2 separate regions of the Homo sapiens genome follow, and region 1 is linked to region 2. The links are contacts of gene promoters, found by promoter capture Hi-C in human tissues and cell types (Jung and others, 2019). All regions are on one chromosome and are shown on one strand. The core of a region is centred on a gene start or on the middle of the fragment in contact, and the rest is flanking DNA. Distances in the headings are between cores, read along the strand shown.

What was found. The method cuts DNA at HindIII sites, captures the fragments that hold promoters and counts their contacts. A contact is called where the count stands out against the background at its distance.
Region 1: a contact is called between a fragment that was not itself captured here and the fragment with the promoter of RNF180 in region 2, in 1 of the 25 tissues and cell types used here (bladder).

What each region holds. Positions count from the first base shown.
Region 1 is chr5:64,797,429-64,801,069 of GRCh38, reverse strand. It overlaps CWC27 (CWC27 spliceosome associated cyclophilin), which reads right to left. Exons shown (of 14, transcript NM_005869.4): 8 at 743-822. Among named protein-coding and RNA genes, the nearest start is that of CWC27, 30 kb to the right of the region's middle. The HindIII fragment of the contact is 3,591 bases long and covers 1-3,396 here.
Region 2 is chr5:64,164,062-64,167,230 of GRCh38, reverse strand. It overlaps RNF180 (ring finger protein 180), which reads right to left and starts at 1,388. Exons shown (of 8, transcript NM_001113561.2): 1 at 1,278-1,388. The HindIII fragment of the contact is 11,374 bases long and covers 1-3,169 here.

The DNA of each region.
Region 1 (3,641 bases), core at 352-2,851, 630 kb before region 2:
AGGAAAAAAGCAAACAACAACCGACAGTGTTATTTTTATGATCAATGGTCTGCAAAAAACAATTTCTTTTATTGGCTTGAAATATTCTGACTAAAAAAACCCCCAAATCCTTCAAATAGAAGGGTATTAAGAAAAGATTGTCTTAAAACAGGAGTTTCGAAAATGAGCTAAACTGAGTACAACAGCATTGTAGTGCCCCTTGAGATACTGGCCCAGTTTATCTTGTGCTATTACATCTAACACCAAGACGTTTTCCCTTCTCAAAGAGAAGCAACAAAGGTAGCAAGACAACTTTCTGTTAACTCCTCAAAGTATGTGAGAATTTATAGTCAGTGGACTGGCCCCCAAACTGGTAACTTCTTCACAAAAACCTTTAACTGTAATTTGTTCATTCATGATACAATTAAGGCAAAAATGCTTCAAGGAAAAGGTAGCAAAACAACCTTGAATTAAGCATTACACTGTTAAAGCAAACAGTTTCTAGTCCTAACATGTAATGGTAAAACAATTTTAAATGTAATTCATTCAACAGAGGTAGAGAGCAAGTGCGAAAGTGACTAGAGCGTTTGTTTCTCTCTATCAAGCTTGAAGTTCTCTATCTCTGTTATCAAAATGCTTTATTTTTTTGGCTGGCTTAAAAATTTTTGACTTATGAGGACTGACTGTTTACTCACAGAAGAAGCAAGAAAATTATCTGAGCCAGAAAATTAAGAACTTAGGATCATACCAACAATGGACTAACCTTTCTACAACTGGAACAGAACTGAGATGTGGATCATCCTTAAGCAAGTCATGACTACTTTTGCTTTTGCCCTTCATGCTCTGCAAAGAATGTACAATATAATCATGAGGGGGGAAATAAACAGTATTCCTAAATAACAAGTTAACAAATTTACATAAAACCTAGCAATGATATAATATGGTTAGCAAAAGATGTATTCCTGAAAAGTTTAATACAAACTAAAGTTTTATAAGTAAGAATCTTACTCTTCTATTGACTGAAAATAGTATTTTAGAAACACCTTTTCTTTCAAAAAATGATATATCATTTAAAAGAAGTCTGTTGAATTACCAACTTGAAGCACTAAATTCTCATAATAATTTGCATACTATGAAACTAGTTAATTTTTATGACCCCTATAACTTAGAAGCTACATCACAAGAGTATTGAAATAAATGCATGCTATTATTCTTCAAATATGCCACCTATACTGCACAGAATCACTTTTTAAAATGTTACTCAAGCAAAAGATAAGTGCATCCCCGAGGAACTACTTACCAACAACAACAAAAAAAGATATAGAAGAGCCTCTTGAGCATGAGAATATTTATCAGTGACCAAATATTTATTAAATGCTTTAATTTCAAAGTTCATGTTTTCAAAAAATGTACATTTTAGAAGGGAAACAAGATATAAAAAGGTTTAAGAAGTAGCATTATAAAACAACAACTACTGCTGCTATTAAGTATATATATATATATTTTGAGATGGAGTCTCACTCTGTCACCAGGCTGGAGTGCAGTGGTGTGATCTCAGCTCACTGCAATCTCCGCTTCCGGGGTTCAAGCGATCCTCCTGCCTCAGCCTCCCAAGTAGCTGGGATTACAGGTATGCGCCACCACGCCCAGCTAATATTTGTATTTTTAGTAGAGACAGGGTTTCACCATGTTGGCCAGGATGGTCTTGATCTCCTGACCTCATGATCTGCCCGCCTCAGCCTCCCAAAGTGCTGGGATTACAGGCATGAGCCACTGTGCCTGGCCAAGTATTAAGTATATTCTTTGTGCTAGGCACTGTGCTTCAAATAGCATTGCTAACCCTCTCTTCTTCTCTTCCCAAATTAAAGTATATGAGGTGGGAATTATTAGCCCCATTTTACAGATGGTTAAAGAGATTAAGTAATTTACTAAAGGTCACAAAACTAGTCAGTGGTAGAGGATCTAGGGTTTAAATCCAGGTCTGTCTGACAATAGTACCCATATATCGAAAATCTAAATGTATCCATTTTTCTTTTCCTCTAGGCCCCTATGGGCCCAGAATACCGGCCTGGTTTCAGAGCTGCAATCTCCTATTCTACAGATTTCCCTACTGCAGGGTGGGACACCTCAAACTTACACCCTGTATCTTGAGGGGGGAAGATGCTCACCACCCCAACTCCCAACTAATCATATAAAAATGAATAGTTAAGAGATTAGAGTTGACAGAAAGAATAATTTCTGCTTTGAAAAATTTTGAAGAAAATTTTATGTGGGAAAATTTATTACAAAGTATGTTAACTAAAATGTTTAAATGACATTTAAACAGACACAGACACAGAGAGATGAAAACACTTCTTTTCCTTAAGCTCCCTTCACCACTTTTAATTTGAAAAACAGGCTCTTAAATAGATTTTAATTTCTGTATTAATATGGAGCTCTCTATAGAGTTAATCAATTAAAACATGCTTATAGTGCAATTTCATAATACAAAATTTTCTCCAACAGTTAATCTAAATATGCTATTATTTGTAGTTTTAAAAAGTCATAGAATCTGAATTATGCAATTAATCTATATATCTAATTTCATAAACTTACTTAAACTAAGGAGTGATGAAAAAGCAAAATGTCATCTAATTACTGGATAATGTTTGTCTGACTATGAAAAACGGGGGAAAATATTCACAAAACAGAAGGTGGTATAGTAGAAAGAAGACAGGACAAGAAGAAAGATGGTGGTTGGACCAAATGAGTTTCAAAATGTAGTATTCCACAATTCCATGGGGTTTAGTCTAAAACATGTACCATTTGTTGAAACACAGTGATCTCATGAGACCTCAGAAACATTGCCTACAAAATGGGAATAATCATCATAGCAGCCTTGCCTATTTCACATAAGAGAATTAAATGAGATTATCTGCAAAAGTGTACAGTGAACATCAAATAACTTAAACAAGAATAAAAGCCTGAACATCTTTTGTTCATGCTTTCCTTCCTTAAAATTCCTTCCTCCTGCATCTCTGGCCGTCAGATTATTTTCATCTACCTTCAGAAATAGTCCTATATTAATTCTCCCCACCTGGTTCCCTTATAAAGTCACAATCATAAACATCACAGTCAGAATTGGCCCCAGATCCTCTGTTCTAGCCTTTTGGTCCACTGATCAGAAAATGACTTACACTAATAAATAGCAAAAGCAAGATTAGAATTCAGATCTCTAAGTAAGCTCTTGGTCCATTAATGAGCTATACTATTTCACTTCCTTGTGAATGTTAGTTTACAATTGTTAATTTCATTGTTAATATATTTTTAAAATGGGTTCTTGTATTGTATTCTTGAAAACCACTAAGAGCGATTTTAAGTTTTCTCCTCACAAGAAATGATAAGCATGTGAGGTAATTCATATGTTAATTAGCTCCATTTAGCTAATTTAAAAAGTAATTAATTTTTTTAAAAAGGTTCTTGTTTATCTTCCAAAACTTACTTTAAATAGCTGGAAGGAAAAAGAAAAACCTTGTTTTACACTAATTTAAAATAAGACTTGACAATAGGAGGAACCTGTGTTTAATTTTAATAATCATTACCATTTCAAATTTTAACTAACTTTTAAAATTAAATTAGTATAGAAATATATGAAAAGCCAAATTGTTAGGCCTCTCTTCCCA
Region 2 (3,169 bases), core at 139-2,638:
AAACTTACTCAAATATTCCGGGAAACCTAACAGCTCGCCTCCTCGATTCTACTTATTAAATAAATATTTAGAGTTTCTGCCATTGTCACCAAAGTATCTTTGGGCTGCCAGTGGCACTACATTTATACAAGAGACGAAAGTCTGACAGATAAAAGACAACGGAATTTTACTTCTTTCTACGACTCAAATGATACCACTCATTTGAAACTGAAGTGTTTATGATCTTTCAAGTATCACTTTTAGGGGTACTATAACAGGAGTCTGAAAGGAATTGACTCTATTTTTTAAGAAAGGTTTTAACAATTAATGAGTATATAAAAATACAATGAGCATCAGACCGTCCATCTTTGAGAGCTAAATTTTGTTTGAGACTAAGAGACCAACTGGACCAAGGACAACTCTAGTCAGACAAGTTCTAATCACAGATTCCACAAGGATTGACTGCTTAGTTTTGATATAATCACTTTGCCTCTTGGGTGCCTCAGCTGTCTGGTCTATAAAATGGGATAATAGTAACCCGACCGCATAATGCTCCTTTGAAGTTAACTAATGAATGCTCTCACAGATACACTTACAACTGTTAGATGCTACGAAAATAATGAGCACTATCTCGAAAAAAAACAAGGTGGAATATATGTGTTAGTGTTCATAACAGCACTAGTAATTTCCCACCAAAGGACCATCTCCCCACCTCCGCCCGATGGATTTCAGAGCTTATGACCTCTGCCTAGCAGAAAGTCGTACACTCCGGACCCAAGGCTGCAACAAAAGCGACTGCGACGCCGATACTGAAATGGGCTAGACAAAGGAAAGTGGAACCGTGCAGAGGGAATCGGCCGTGGAAGGGGCTGTGTGGTCCCCACAAGCTCCGAAATTAAACAAGACGCAGTTCCCCACCTCAGACCTGGAGAGGGTTCAGTACTGGACCCCTGGCACCCACCCCACCTTCCCCGGCCTCCTCCGCCACACCTACAGCGCCTCGCCTCCAGGACTCAGCTTTTTCGACCCTGTGTAATTCCAACCTCCAGGTGGGCGCGCCCCGAGGCCGCTCCGAGAGCCTCAGGTGCGAAAGTTAAGCCGCGGCCGCGTCACCTGAGGCCCGCCGGGCGAGAGGCGGCCAGGCCAGCGGCAACCCTAGCCCAGCCCCTTGGCACGTCCCCGCCTGGGCCAACGTGGGGGCCCGGGCCACCGCGGCTGGGTAGGGCCCGGCCGAGGCCAGGTCCCTCCGAGAGGCGCCGCCGCCGCGCCCCGCCCGACTCCGACCCGCCGGCCTTTACCTGTATCCACGTCCCGGAGCCTCCGGCTTCGCGCCCCGTCCCGGCGCTCCCGGCCGCCAGCAGCCAGGCTCTGAGGACTCGCTGCGGCTCCGGCGGCGGCGATGCCGGTTCGGCGAGACGGGAAGCGACAGGAGCCAAACCCCGCGGAAAGCGCTCGAGCTGTGCCTGCAGCCCCGACCCCGCGGCCTCGGACGTGGCGCCCCGGCGCTCGCCCGCCACAGCCAGCGGCCCTGCTCGCCCCACGTCTGCGGGTTCCCACCCGAGCCGCGCGTGGGCGGCGCCGGGCTTTGACCCCGCGCAGGCAGACAAGCGCCGCGGGCCAGACGGAACCGTGGGAAAGTTTTTCTCCCTTGTCATCCCCTTACCAGAGCCACAGAAATTATCCCTGTGGTCTCCCTTGTCCTCACTCGGCCTTTTCTGGAGTTAAGAGATCCAAGCCAACTACTGGGTCTGTTCCCTGCTAAAATCTTAGGCCGGCGTCCCATCCACCCATCCCCATGCCTAGGACTTTTAAGCTGGCAACGCTACCTGGGTTTAGTTTTCCCTTCGTATATCACTATCTTCGTTGCTTACCTTCTTGTGCCTAAAGTTCCACCGATGTGCAAGGAGATTAACCACTAAAGTGCACCTGACACTACTCTTGACAAATTGCAGTTGGGAGGTGAGTTGATGACTGGCGGTAAATCAAAAGTGCTTATTTAGGGAGTGAGGGGGCCGCGTGCAGTAAATGTTGACTTGCAGGTGCCTCATAGATGATCAAACGACTATAAATAAGATTCGGAATATAAAAAGCAAGTTTTATTAGTTGGCTTGAGGAGAGGGAAGGGAGCTAGGAGGGAACCTCAAAAAAAATATACAGCTTTGTTTCTCTGCTAGATACAGAAATTTTTATTTGCCTGAAGTGGCTTACTTGGAAACTTGTCCTAAGATTAGGGCTGTATGCAGTGACTTCCCATCTGGAAATACAAGGAAATAAAGAACAAAATGAAAGACATCACGAGAAAACTACAGACCAATATACCTTATGCATAGTAACATAAAAATCCTCAACAAAATACTAGCAAGCCAAACCCAGCAACATTTTAAAAAATTATACAACATGACCAAGTAGGATTTATCTCAGGAATGCAAGTTTGGTGTGACATACAAAATTAATGTAACACACTACTTTAAATAGACTAAATGTAAAAACCACATGATCATCTCAAAAGATGAAGGAAAAGCAATTGACAAAATCTAACACCCTTTCTTGATATAAACACTTCAACTAGGAATAAAAGGAAACTTCTTCAACCTAATAAAGAGCCTCTGAAAAATCCATAATTAACATCATACTTAATCTTGAAAGAATGAACATTTTCACCTAAAATCAGGAATAAGACAAGGATGTCAATTGTTGCTACTTCTATTCAACATTATAGTGGAGGCACTAGCCAGGGCAGTTAGGCAAGGAAAGGTGGAATATCTAACAGCTAGTAGAACAAAGAGAAGAAAGATAATTACCAAAGAAAACGAGGACAACAGTTCTCAGAGCTAAAGGACAGAAGCACATGAGCTCTCAGTTTAATGGATAAAAATTTTCTATAACCAAGTTGTGAAATTTCAAACCACATGAGTCAGAGAGATCTTAACTTTCATGGAGGAAAAAATAGGAGGTGATTTATGAAGATTTAGAAATCAGAATGGCATTGGATTCTCAACAGAAACATAAATAAAAGATAAATTCTGAGAAAAAAATGATTTCCAATTTTGAAATTGATGAAGTATGAGGTTTAAAAAGACATTTTCAAATATACAAAGGTTTAAATAGTATTTTCATGCATTCTTTCTCAGGAAGCAATTGGAGGATGTATTCTATAACAAAGTGGTTAGACAGAGAATCTGATAGAAAA